Regions from separate parts of the Homo sapiens genome. Here regions 2, 3 and 4 are each linked to region 1. Evidence: promoter capture Hi-C in 16 types of primary human blood cells and fetal thymus (Javierre and others, 2016). All regions are on one chromosome and are shown on one strand. Each heading gives the region's core, a stretch centred on a gene start or on the middle of the fragment in contact. The rest is flanking DNA. Distances are from core to core; before and after follow the strand shown. Region 1 holds the start of CCDC59 (coiled-coil domain containing 59). Region 2 overlaps ZFC3H1 (zinc finger C3H1-type containing). Region 3 overlaps THAP2 (THAP domain containing 2). Region 4 holds the start of TBC1D15 (TBC1 domain family member 15).

Region 1 (3,070 bases), core at 310-2,809:
CCTAACTTTTCAATAACAATTACTTAAAAAAACAACAACAGTATTTACCAAGTGCTATTATAAGAGGTCCCTCTAGTGATGCTTTGCATTCAGAGAATGCTCAATGAATAAAGTTCACTAGTAAGGGTAACTTTGGGAAGTCTAGAAGGAAAGTAAAAATCCCAGAAGCCTGTTGGTGTCCATCATTCTACTTCCAAAATATGCTTGCCTGAGAAGAATCTACATTTCTTGAGGGTAGGAAAAGCTTGAGCCTACAAAAATTCAAGACACATATTAGGTACTTTAAAATAGTTTTTAAATGAAATAGTGACTATCCGAATACCATCCTAGTCCAAGATACAATCATCTGTTGTACTACTGAGGTAGTCTCCTAACTGGCCTCTCAGCTTCAGCTTTTGCCCTAGTCTATTCTTCAAATAATTCACAGTTATCTTTTCAAATGTGAATTAGGTCACTATGTTGCCTAAATAATCCCAAGGGTTTCCGTCACACTTAAAATCCAAAATCCTTCCAAGGCCTAGAAAGGCCTGTGCCATCTGGCCTCTGCTTGCCTCCCGTCCTGCACCTGCAGCCCCTCACCTGGCTAGAGCCAAGCCTAGCCTGCGGTTCCCACCGCCTGCAACCCCTCCCTGTGGCTCTGCAGCTAGTGCCTTCTCATGTTCCTGACCTCCTAAATTGAGGCAGCCTCCTTACACAATCCCTACCACATTACACTGTTTTTATTTTCTACTTCATTACCACCACTTGAAATTATCTTTATTAACTGTTGAGTAATCTTCCACCACATGCTGGCATTTATAAAACCTGTGAGAGCACTGCTCCCCTAGTTTCCCTAGCGTCAATTATTATGGAATTACTAGATGAAGGAACTCCCCTGCCCTGTTTCCTGCTTTCTTTAAATTGTGGACATACACAAGCACCCAAAGAAAGAGTGATCCTGATTCCAAAGAACATCCCCACCCCACCCCTCAACTAATCCGACCCCTCCTCGGTTTCCCAGCGGGCCGCCCCGCCTCCGCCGCCACGCACCTGGTTCTGCTGGCTTCCACCAGGGGGCTCGCTTCGTCTGCCGGGACCTTCTCCTCCGCCTCCCTTCCCGCCCCGCCTACCCCACCACCCACCTGCTTCCCACTCTGCTTCCACTAGGGGGCGCGTCTCTGAGGGCAGGGCCTCCGTCTCCGACGCTGACTTCCTCAGCGCAGCCAGCACTGTCTCCGGTGGCAAGTCGACCAGCTCCTCCCACACGGATTCTGTGTAGAAATCCACGGTATGTGCATTGGAAATGGACAGGGCATCCCTCAGGAACTGCAGCAGTCCCTGCAACTTGGCACGCAGCGTGGGCAGGTCCGGGGTCACCGGGAGAGGGCAAGAAGCCGCCATGACGCTCACCCTCCGAGGCTGTAGGTGGCGCAAACATGGCCGTGAGGCGCCAGCTCGGCCCAAATTAGCACAGGCAGGCTCAGTAGAGCTCCGAGCCGGATTCCTTCTGAGCGATTGATTGCTTCGGCTTGGTGACGTATTTTGTGGGCGTCCGTCGTGGTCTTCTGATGACGCAGTTAGTCGGCTGCAATGGCGCCGGTGAGGCGGTCCGCGAAGTGGCGGCCTGGTGGTATTGAGGCGCGTGGTGAAGGGGTTTCCACTGTCGGGTACAGGAATAAGAATGTGAGACAGAAGACATGGCGGCCTAACCACCCGCAAGCCTTCGTGGGGAGCGTTCGCGAGGGTATGTAAGAAGGCAACCATTTGCAAATCCTCAGGCTTGCTAAGTTTTAGGATATAAGATTCGCTGAAGCTTGGAAGAAGGATTTAGGAACCAGACCCGGTCCTACTTGGGGCAAGGGAATTCATTCCTGAGCCCGCTAAAGCTGTGAGCTTCGCAGAGCTCTAGATAGGAAGACGGAGCAGTGTTGCTATTATTTAAACGTCTTTTCTGACGTAACCCTGTATTTCATCAGAACTTTTTTCCTATATTTTTCCTGAGAAACTGAGCAGAGAGAGTCTATGACCCTGTGAACTCTTGCGCATGTGGTAAGGTAAAGGATAGAGAGGAGGACAGGGCCAGAAACACTGCTCCGAATTCTTCCTTATTACAAATACCCGAGGCCCTCCAGCCTTCGCTTTAATTTGTGTTTGTCATTTTGTATTGCTGTCTGTAAGGTCTCTTAGATCCCACTTGGAATATATAAATGTTAAATTCAGTCTTCCGATAATTGCTAGCTTTTCAGACAACCATACACTGTCTTTTTCTTTCGTGTTGAAACATTTTCGAAAACATGTAGTTTGTCCAAGATACTAGATGTGGCATTTTCTTTCCTATTTTTTAAGCATTTATTGAAGGCTCAGATTAAGTGTTTTAGATGAACTAAGGAATTTGTTTTGATTTGTGAATACAGCTGTAAACTCAAGTTGTGCAACAGTCTGAACTGGTCAGTTTTTCTTTGAGATTCTTACTTGGATTTCCGCATGACTGTTAGCCTGGTCTTTTTGCAAAGGGCCAACTTACTATGCAATCCATCAGCTTAAATTTGTTGCTTGAAATAATTTTTTAAAGCAAAATATAATACTAGAATCTGAATGTGATGACGTAAAAAAAGTTTTCATTTGTAATTAACAGCTCCATTCTTCGTTCAACTTCTTTTCTCTGAAAGTAATTTTGGATGATATTCCTCAATGTAGGACAAGGCTTTGCTTTTCGAAGAAAACTGAAAATACAGCAAAGTTACAAGAAATTGCTACGGAAGGAAAAGAAGGCTCAAACGTCACTGGAATCTCAATTCACAGATCGATACCCAGATAATCTGAAACATCTCTATTTAGCTGAAGAGGAAAGACATAGGAAGCAAGCAAGAAAAGTCGACCATCCTTTGTCAGAACAAGTTCACCAGCCGTTGCTTGAAGAACAGTGTAGCATTGACGAGCCTTTATTTGAAGATCAGTGTAGCTTTGACCAGCCTCAGCCAGAAGAACAATGTATTAAAACAGTAAAGTATGTATTTTCTTCATTTGAAATCCTTTAAGTGTTGTTTTATTATTTAAAAGTACTATAGGATAATTTATATAGGAATTGTAT
Region 2 (3,070 bases), core at 420-2,919, about 11 Mb after region 1:
GCGGCACGCGTCTGAGCGGGGCCACCTCAGGGGACCCAGCAGCTACCGACCCAAAGAACCGTTCCGGTCTCATCCGCCTTCTGTACGGATGCCTTCGAGCTCACTGTCCGAAAGCAGTCCCCGGCCGTCTTTCTGGGAGCGGAGCCACCTCGCCTTGGACCGTTTCCGCTTTCGAGGCAGGCCTTACCGGGGTGGGAGTCGCTGGAGTCGGGGGCGAGGAGTGGGTGAGCGAGGAGGCAAGCCGGGGTGCAGACCTCCTCTGGGAGGAGGAGCAGGATCCGGGTTCAGCAGCAGTCAGAGCTGGCGAGAGCCCTCTCCACCTCGGAAGAGCTGTATCCTTAACGTGGCGGTCGGCGCTGGGTGTGTCACTAAAGTTCCCTTTAGCGTCATTACTAGGTCTGTGAGACGAGTGTAACTTTGAATCATCAGAACCGCTTATTTCTCCCTGTGTCAGTATACTTTAAGTTGTTCTTTGGTAATTCCCCATGTGTCACACTATAGCGTTATTCTTAAGACTGCTTCATTGGGTATATTAACGTGCTGTGGATTGGGTTAAGCTTATGAAATCTAAGACAGTTAAGTCTGATTTGTAATAATACCTTAGAAGCCCAAGTTTCATTAGCATTTGTATTTTTGCTGGTACAGAAACTTTGTGTTTTATATGAAGTTGACTTGGATTGTTAGAGAAAAAATATTCATAAACAGTTTAAGTAATATTGTTGCTTTATCATATTGCAGTTTGACGTTGAAAATTGTAAAGTTTTAATCTGCACAGTCCTGCACTATTTTTGTGATTCTGTTTTTATCTTGATTTATTCCGGTTGCTGCCTTTTAAAGTGGGGGGGGGAGGGGTAAAAAAAAAACAACTCTGGTGTCTTTACCAAGTCTGTTTCAGAGCTTTTTGATTCATTTGATCTTTTTGGAACACTTTACCTCCTTTACGTTTCTATCTGTGTTCACTTTTGCACATTGTGTAACTTCGTGCTGACTAAATGAGGGCCAGAGAGAGAAAGATAAACTTATCAGCATTTTTATTTTAATACGTTAGAGTGGAGGAATGTGTATGCGAGGGTGGAGATTACGGGTAAGTTGAGAAAGGAAATAGTAACATTCCAGATTTTTCCTACTTCTAACCTTATTCTCAGTTTTAAACATTACTGAGTTTACTCAGCATTTATACAGAGGAATCAATCATCCGAAGGTTTCCTGTTTTATAATGGGTTTGTAAAACACTATCTTGACTTAATCTGTGATCATTGCAAAAATTGTTTAAAGACTTTCATTACTGGTTGTAATTCACATAGTGTGATGATTTTTAATTTCGTTATTATATATGAAACTTAAAAGTAATGACAGTTATTTGGAAGACAATCAGAATTACTTTTATAGAACACTTAGGTCCAGAATAGGTCTTTCTCAAATGTCATGATGTAAAAGGGGCAAGGAATGTACATTTAGGTGAGAAACAGCAGCTTCTGATGCTAGTTCCCTGAAAAACCTTACTTCTGCAACCAAAAGTTGGGTTAGGAGTATTTCAGGATTGTTTCGGAGAAAATCATGTAGGCGCCAGGCGTGGTGGCTCACGCCTGTAATCCCAACACTTTGAGAGGCCGAGGCGGTGGATCACTTGAGATCAGGAGTTCCAGACCAGCTTGGCCAACATGGTGAAACCTTGTCTCTACTAAAAATAAAAAAGTTAGCCAGGCGTGGTGTTGGGTGCTTGTATTTCCAGCTACCCGGGAGGCTGAGGCAGGAGAACCGATTGAACTCGGGAGGCAGAGTTGTAGTGAGCAGAGATTGCACCACTGCACTCCATCCTGGGCGGTAAAGCGAGACTCCGTTTCAAAAAAAAAAAAAAAAGGAAAATTATATAGATATTTAACTTTTTAAAAGCCAGCAAATGGTTCTTCCAAGAAGGTTAGAAAACCTCTGCCCACGGTGTTTCTTAATCCATGGATTTGTGGTCTATTTTGAATCCAAAAGCCAGAAAGGCTATTTAAGCATATATATGTGTATGGTTTTTATTTATTTATTTATTTATTTTTGAGACAGAGTCTCGCTCTGTCGCCCAGGCTGGAGTGCAGTGGTGTGATCTCGGCTCACTGCAAGCTCCGCCTCCCGGGTTCACGCCATTCGGCCTCAGTCTCCCGAGTAGCTGGGACTACAGGCGCCCGCCACCACGCCCGGCTAATTTTTTATATTTTTAGTAGAGACAGGGTTTCATCATGTTAGCCAGGATGGTCTCGATCTCCTGACTCCGTGATCCGCCCACCTCGGCCTCCCAAAGTGCTGGGATTACAGGCATGAGCCACCGTGCCCAGCCAATGTGGATGGTTTTTAAATTTTTTTAATTAAAAAAAATTTTTATTAAATTTATTTAAAAAAATTTTTTTTTGGGGAGACGAAGTCTTGCTATGTTGCCCAGGCTGATCTTGAACTTGTAGCTTCAAGAGATCCTCCTTCCTTAGACTCCCAAAGTGCTGGGATTTATAGGCGAGAGCCACCAGTTTATATGTGTTTTTTAAAGGTACAAAGATGAAACCTGTAGTTTGTATTAGGGAAACAAATGAAAATAAGTAGTTGCAGTTTAGTATAAAAAGTTGAAACTGAAGTATGTATATAAAAAAGTACTATGGGAGCTCAAAGGTTTTTCTTAAAATTTTTATTCTGTATTAGAAAAGGGGGAGGTGAGTGGGCTTTCTGCTTTTGTCCTCTTTCTGCGTGTTTATTCAATACTATTTTGGGCCTCTACCATAGACCTTTATTAATTGGTAAGCTTGCATGTTTTTATTAGTAAACTGGCATATGATGTTGCAAAAAAAAAAAAGTACCAGAAAATATCCAGTCTGCTTGTGTGACTTTGATTTCCGTAGTAACTTGTCATAAATAAGATATCTTGTTGTTTTTCTTTTCACAGATGCTGCACTTAAAAGGATGCTTGTTTTGATGTCCTGCTCATTGTTTTCCCTATGAAGTATCAGTAATCCATCCTAGAGGTGGTGTTCTTTTTAAGAATTTGAGAAGGAAAACGTAGTTCCCAGCTACTTTTATATAATGTGAGCAAACAAAA
Region 3 (3,070 bases), core at 333-2,832, about 11 Mb after region 1:
TTAGGGATGGTGTCACACAAGAGAGGGGAGCATCCAAGGTAAGAATTGAAAGATGACAAAGAGTTTGCTCAGTGACTAAGCTAAACAAGGGCAATTTGTAAAGGTTTGTTTGGTGGTTAAAAAGAACATGAAAATAGGAAGTTCAAGAGAATGGAGAAGAGTTAGAAATAACACATTTTGGAGTGTTTGCTAAATAATTTATTAAACTGAAAATTCATCTGAGAAATAGACACCTCTTTTAAAAAATTTTTAATATAAAAATAGAGGTGAGGTCTCACTGTGTTGTCCAGACTGGTCCCAAACTCCTGGCTATAAGTGATCCTCTTGCCTTGGCCTTCCAAAGTGTTGGGATTACAGGTGTGAGCCACTGCATCCAACCAGTATATGCCTTCTTGACATTAAACCCGAATATTTTGTTTTTTAAATGTTTGTAGTATAGATTTTAAAAGACTAGGGAGCAATTTGAAGATGGATTTGTTGTATTAGGTTGAGCTCATTCTAAAAGGGCCTTAGGGAGAGGGTGGGGAGCAATTGAGGGCAGGAATAAAGAAATGGAATACTGTTTTCCAGTAACCTTGAGGACGGACACCATGTCTGTCTGGCACATCCTAGTTTGATCAGTGTCTCTTAATGAGTGTTAAGATAGTATTTTTTGGGCTGGGTACGGTGGCTCACGCCTATAATCCCAGCACTTTGGGAGGCCAAGACGGGCGGATCACCTGAGGTTGGGAGTTCCAGACCAGCCTGATCAACATGGAGAAACCATGTCTCTACTAAAAATACAAAATTAGCTGGGCATGGTGGCACATGCCTGTGATCCCAGCTACTCAGGAGGCTGAGGCAGGAGAATCACTTGAACCCGGGAGGTAGAGGTTGTGGTGAGCCGAGATTGCGCCATTGCACTCCAGCCTGGGCAACCAGAGCGAAAATCCATCTCAAAAAAAATAAAAATAAAAATAAAAAAGATAGCATTTTTTGAATTACAGTATTCGAAACAAGTTTTTTTTTTTTTTTTTTTTTTTTTTTTTTTTTTTTTTTTAAACAGTCTCACACTATTGCCTGGGCTGGAAGTGCAATGGCACAATTTCCGGCTCACTGCGAACCTCTGCCTCCCCTGGTTCAAGCGATTCTCCTGCCTCAGCCTCCTGAGTAGCTGGGATTACAGGCACCCACCATCACGCCTGGCTTATTTTTTGTATTTTTTTTTTAGCAGAGACGGAGTTTCACTATGTTGGCCAGGCTGGTCTGGAACTCCTGACCTTGTGATCCGCCCACCTTGGCCTCCCAAAGTGCTGGGATTACAGGAGTGAGCCACTGCGCCCAGCCCAAAACAATATTTTAATCAGAAGAAATTAATAAAATATTACAATCTTTCCCTTTTGTTAGTAAGATAGTGCTTTGATAATGTATGCTTTTTTTTTTTTTTTTTTAAAGAGACAGGGTTGCACTCTGTTGCCCAGGATGAAGTGCAGTGGTGCGATCAGAGTCACTGCAGCCTTGAACTCCTGGGCTCAAGCAGTCCTTCTGCCTCAGCCTCCTGAGTAGCTAGGGTACTACAGCCACATGCCTCTGTGCCTGGCTAATTTTTATTTCATTATTTTTGTAGAGATGGGTGTCTCGCTAAGTTGCCCAGGCTGGTCTTAAACTCCTGGCCTTAAGTGATCCACCCGCCTTAGCCCCACAACATGCTGGGATTACAGGCATGAACTCCTGTACCTAGCCTGCAAATACATTTTTGTGTGAGCCTCAAATTATGGTCAGGATAGAGATAGACTGTTACCATTTTCATAGCCGTTCATATATCTTGTCTAGATTGCCTATTATCTGAAACAGTGCAAATAAACTATAATGTACATTTAGATATAATGTGAGCAACAAAAATGAAAATAATTTCTCTTCAAGGCTTTACATTATCTTTGTTCTACCATTTGCTTCAGTTTAGGGAGAAGGACTTCACAGAAGTCTTTCAGGGGGTCAATGTAAAAGAACTTTCACAGAAATATTTATGTACATTTTTTAGAAATAACAGGCATGACAGTAATTTCCTTGGGGAAAAATGTTTAATATCACCATACTCAGAATACATTTTTTTGAATATGCAATTATTTAGTATACACTACAAAATCCTCAATTTTAGAAAGTTTCCAACTGTCTAAATATCAGAAGAATGCAATATTTTGGTACAAAGATGAACCATTTCCTATATTATAGCAAAATTAAAATCTACCCGTATTCTAATATTGAGAAATGAGATAAAACACAATATTATAAAGTCTACTTAGAGAAGATCAAGTGACCTCAAAGACTTTACTATTTTCATATTTTAAGACACATGATTTATCCTATTTTAGTAACCTGGTTCATACGTTAAACAAAGGATAATGTGAACAGCAGAGAGGATTTGTTGGCAGAAAATCTATGTTCAATCTAGAACTATCTAGATCACAGACATTTCTATTCCTTTTGCAAGTTGGCACACAGTAAATGCCCGAATGAATAAATAAATTGCATTAACAAGGATGTCTTCATGTGTAAATCAGAGATAATACCACCTACCACACAGAATGTAAGGGAAAAGAGAACAAATAAGTACCAAAGTGCTTTATACGATTCTGAGTTATTTTAAAAATCTGTGTTAATAGGTTTGTTATTTTACACAAAATATCAAATTTCAAATGAACTCCAGTGCTGGATTTCGATGTAGTATTTTATTTATAGCTATGTTTTCCTTTTAACAAAGATACCATTAACACATTTGTTCAGTGTTCATTTTAAAGGGTAAAAATGTTGTCTTATAGCTCATTCAATAAAACACCATAATTCAGGTCAAATGCCAATGTCCTTGTACCTCCTTTGCTAAGTCAATATAAGGAGGAATCTGTTTTGTTTCAAGACAAAAGCATTTGATTATAAAAAGGTCTACAGTTTATAGTTCTTACTGAATTCCAATTCAACAGCATTTACCAAAGGACTTTACAGCTATTTCTTTTGTAGCATTTATCATATTGTATTATAAATATTACTTGTTTCTTTCAGGAGATAGAGCAACTTGAGGGCAGAAAATAATGTA
Region 4 (3,070 bases), core at 207-2,706, about 11 Mb after region 1:
TTAAACGGAAGGGATCCCCTCTTGAAAAGTCCCAGCCTGGATCAGTTTAGATGGAAAATCAAACAGGATAATCTTCAAATACGCAGTAAGTCAAGCAGTATATCAGCATCCACCCTGAATATAAAAAGAAAAAAACTGACAAGACAACCAAGGAGCACGAATAATCCAAAAAAGGATGCCCACCTATCCTTTAAAAGAGCCAGTAGGTACAAGTGTGTAATTTTATGTTTTTTTAAAAAAAAATTTATATAACCCTAACAACTCCAATACAAGAAATAATGATTGGCATCTCCTCCATTCTACAGATAAAGAACGCGAAAAGACAAAAGTCACAATTGCCCAATTTTCCAAGGTCATACTTCAGATTAACAGCAAAACCAAGCCCATATTTGTCATTCAGCCGCCTAGTCTAATACTCCAAACACCAAACCACAAACGCTGTCAAATAATTCAAAATGGGGTAGGGAAAGCAACAGGGAGACATGAGTGAAACTCAAGGAACAGAGGACGCTATCTGCAATGAGTAAACAACCATTAGTGTTCGATGAGTCACTTCAGTTGATTCCAGCTGTTTATGAAATACTCCTGCACTGGGAAATACTATCGGTGGCATATCATAAAGCTGATAGCCCTAACTATGCATAAGATGTGCCCTCGGAACGCGAATAGGCACTATTCGACGAAATCTCCGCACGTAATTCTAGTTTCCAACGAAATTAGGCGTGTCACTGACCACCTCCGTAAACCAGCATGACCAATACTCCTACTGAAATGCCTAGGAAATAAATATTTGGACGCCTTCCTAGACAAGCACAGGATGGTGTAAATCTCCATTTCTCTCAGGAAACACGTCCTGCTGCTCACAACCACCAACCAACTCAGCAGCTTGGTAAAAACAGACCCAATACACTCGTTTCTTCTAAGCGCACAGCTAGCTGCCTAGCATCTATTCAGCTCCTCCCGAAGGAAGCATAAACATCTTCACCAAACTGTAGCAAAGAAGACAGAGGCAAGTCGGGTTAACGCTTCAAAGAGAGAAAAGACGCTGGAGTCAGAAGAGTAGACATAAAGAACTAGAGTCAAGAAACAGTGAATCGGGGGAAAAAAGGAACTAGAGAGCCACCTGTCCCTTAGTAAAGGTAATACGAATAAAAGCCTCTCTGCTCTGGGGCAGAAGAGCGCCGAGGCCTAGCTGGCCTTGGAGCAGTAGCCGGCTCTATAACTCCGCGGCTGAACTGGCATTCTCGGGAAACCAGCTGGTACCACCCAGTCTTCTCCTACAGACGCCACGGGTTGTCCGGACACAGAAAGTCCCTCGTGTCCCTCCCCCAACCAGCTGCCAGGGAGCAAAAGCATCCCCGTCCCAGAGAAAAGCCGAGGTCTTCCTGGAGGCCGTTACCTACCTTCCCGCTCACAACACCCGCCGCCGCCATGTTTCCTGCGCGTGCCTGGTAATGACGTAGCAGAACCTCACGTGTCTCTCGGACATACAACAACATCCGGCAAAACTAGAATAACATCCGGGCGGGAAAAGGGCGGGGAGTGGCGGGAAGGGAGTGGAGGAAAGGAGCCGGGCGGAAAAAAGCCGCCTGACGCGTGCGTGCTGAACTGGGCTCAGAGACGGCTGGGGTGGAGTCTCAGGCCTAACGCTACGCTTGTGCTTGCCCCACGTCCTCCCCAAGGAAGACTGCTAAAATAATGTGTACCTTACTTGTATTGGAGTTTGTCGAGACTCTGAAGCTAGCGCAGGCCACGCCAGTTTGGTGAGATGAAACGAATACCATACTGGAAGCCAGCAAGATTTGTCCTGGTTTTTTGTTGTTGTTGTAGAAAAGGAGTCTCGCTCTGTCGCTCAGGCTGGAGTGCAGTGGCGCGATCTCGGCTCATTGCAGCCTCCGCCACTCGGTTCAAGCGATTCTCAAGCCTCAGCCTCCCGGGTAGCTGGGATTACAGGCGCGCGTCAAACGCCCAGCTAATTTTTAAATTTTTATTAGAGACGAGATTTCGCCAATGTTGCCCAGGCTGGTCTCGAACTCCTGACTTCAGGTGATCCGTCCGCTTCAGCCTTTGCCCAGAGAGCTGGGATTACAGGCTTGAGCCACCGCGCCCAGCCCATTAGCCTGGTTTTGTGGCAGTAGGCAAATCACCAGTGCACTCGAAACCTCAGTTTCTTATAGTAAAATCAAGATAGTGGCGTTGCGGTGAAGATCCAAGAAAGAGCAGCACTAACATGGAGATATCCCAGGCACTATACATGGAGACTTTTCCCCTCTGTATATGAGGTTTCTCTATTTGTCTGGTCACTGCCACTCACACATGACCTCCAGCAAGGTATTTCGATAGGAACTGTGATAATACCACGCCCTCATAGCTGCAGAGCCCAAGGCACATAGTTTATAGCACCTACACATTACTTATTAGCTCTGTGACTTAAAGCAGGTTTCTAAATTTATCAGAGCTTCAGGATGTAAACTGGGAATTACTCCTGCATGGAGTGGTTGTAGGGATTTCATACGACAATACATGTGTGGTAAAATGATTTGTAAAGATACTAAGGTAAGAATTTTACTTGTTCTCAGTGCTGTAAAAGAATGCAGAGAATGATTATATACTACCCCCTTGATAACTCTGGCACAGATCTGGGATTTCCCTAGCTCCGGGGCAGAATAAAAAGTCCCTTTCACCAAAAACACTTGTGTCCATTGAGGTACTTCCGTCTTCACACAGTGGAGAGGGGTTAGAGGCTTTTGAGTTTGGTTGAGGTAGGTGGCAACTAGCTGAACGACAGAAAAGGAGAGTTGCCGGTTATGTGACTACCAGGAACCTAATAGGTGAGGAAAGTGGTGGAACCTTAGGTGGGAATGAATGCGTAGCATATTAGGGAGATTGCGTGCTAGGTATCTGAGATTCCAACCATGACCAAGACCCTTATGCCCAAGCTTGGCAGGGAATCAAGAAAGCAGCTCACCTACAAGGGATGAATGAGGTGGGAAAATGAGAATATTAGCAGTAATCAGCATTGAGTGAAGACTAGAGGGCCTTTTCCAAATGTACTGGACTGAGACTAAGA

What was found. The method cuts DNA at HindIII sites, captures the fragments that hold promoters and counts their contacts. A CHiCAGO score of 5 or more calls a contact.
Region 2: a contact is called between a fragment that was not itself captured here and the fragment with the promoter of CCDC59 in region 1, in 3 of 17 cell types (total B cells, fetal thymus and total CD4 T cells). The highest score is 7.5, in total B cells.
Region 3: a fragment that was not itself captured here is called in contact with the fragment with the promoter of CCDC59 in region 1 in 1 of 17 cell types (total B cells); the score reaches 7.1 in total B cells.
Region 4: a contact is called between the fragment with the promoter of TBC1D15 here and the fragment with the promoter of CCDC59 in region 1, in 1 of 17 cell types (total CD4 T cells). The highest score is 5.6, in total CD4 T cells.

The regions. Positions count from the first base shown.
Region 1 is chr12:82,356,876-82,359,945 of GRCh38, reverse strand. It overlaps CCDC59 (coiled-coil domain containing 59), which reads left to right and starts at 1,559. Exons shown (of 4, transcript NM_014167.5): 1 at 1,559-1,723; 2 at 2,677-2,986. The coding sequence starts at 1,570. It overlaps METTL25 (methyltransferase like 25), which reads right to left and starts at 1,417. Exons shown (of 12, transcript NM_032230.3): 1 at 1,122-1,417. The coding sequence starts at 1,380. RefSeq lists enhancers at 629-1,189, 1,120-1,679, 1,190-1,750. The HindIII fragment of the contact is 1,548 bases long and covers 247-1,794 here.
Region 2 is chr12:71,660,275-71,663,344 of GRCh38, reverse strand. It overlaps ZFC3H1 (zinc finger C3H1-type containing), which reads left to right. Exons shown (of 35, transcript NM_144982.5): 1 at 1-332. Among named protein-coding and RNA genes, the nearest start is that of ZFC3H1, 2.0 kb to the left of the region's middle. The HindIII fragment of the contact is 2,219 bases long and covers 560-2,778 here.
Region 3 is chr12:71,679,616-71,682,685 of GRCh38, reverse strand. THAP2 (THAP domain containing 2) reads right to left here. Exons shown (of 3, transcript NM_031435.4): 3 at 2,042-3,070. All of the region lies in intron 1 of LOC124902965 (a long non-coding RNA gene), which reads left to right. Among named protein-coding and RNA genes, the nearest start is that of TMEM19, 4.9 kb to the left of the region's middle. The HindIII fragment of the contact is 5,054 bases long and covers 1-3,070 here.
Region 4 is chr12:71,838,145-71,841,214 of GRCh38, reverse strand. It overlaps TBC1D15 (TBC1 domain family member 15), which reads right to left and starts at 1,456. Exons shown (of 17, transcript NM_001146213.3): 1 at 1,404-1,456. The coding sequence starts at 1,433. The HindIII fragment of the contact is 6,842 bases long and covers 1-2,941 here.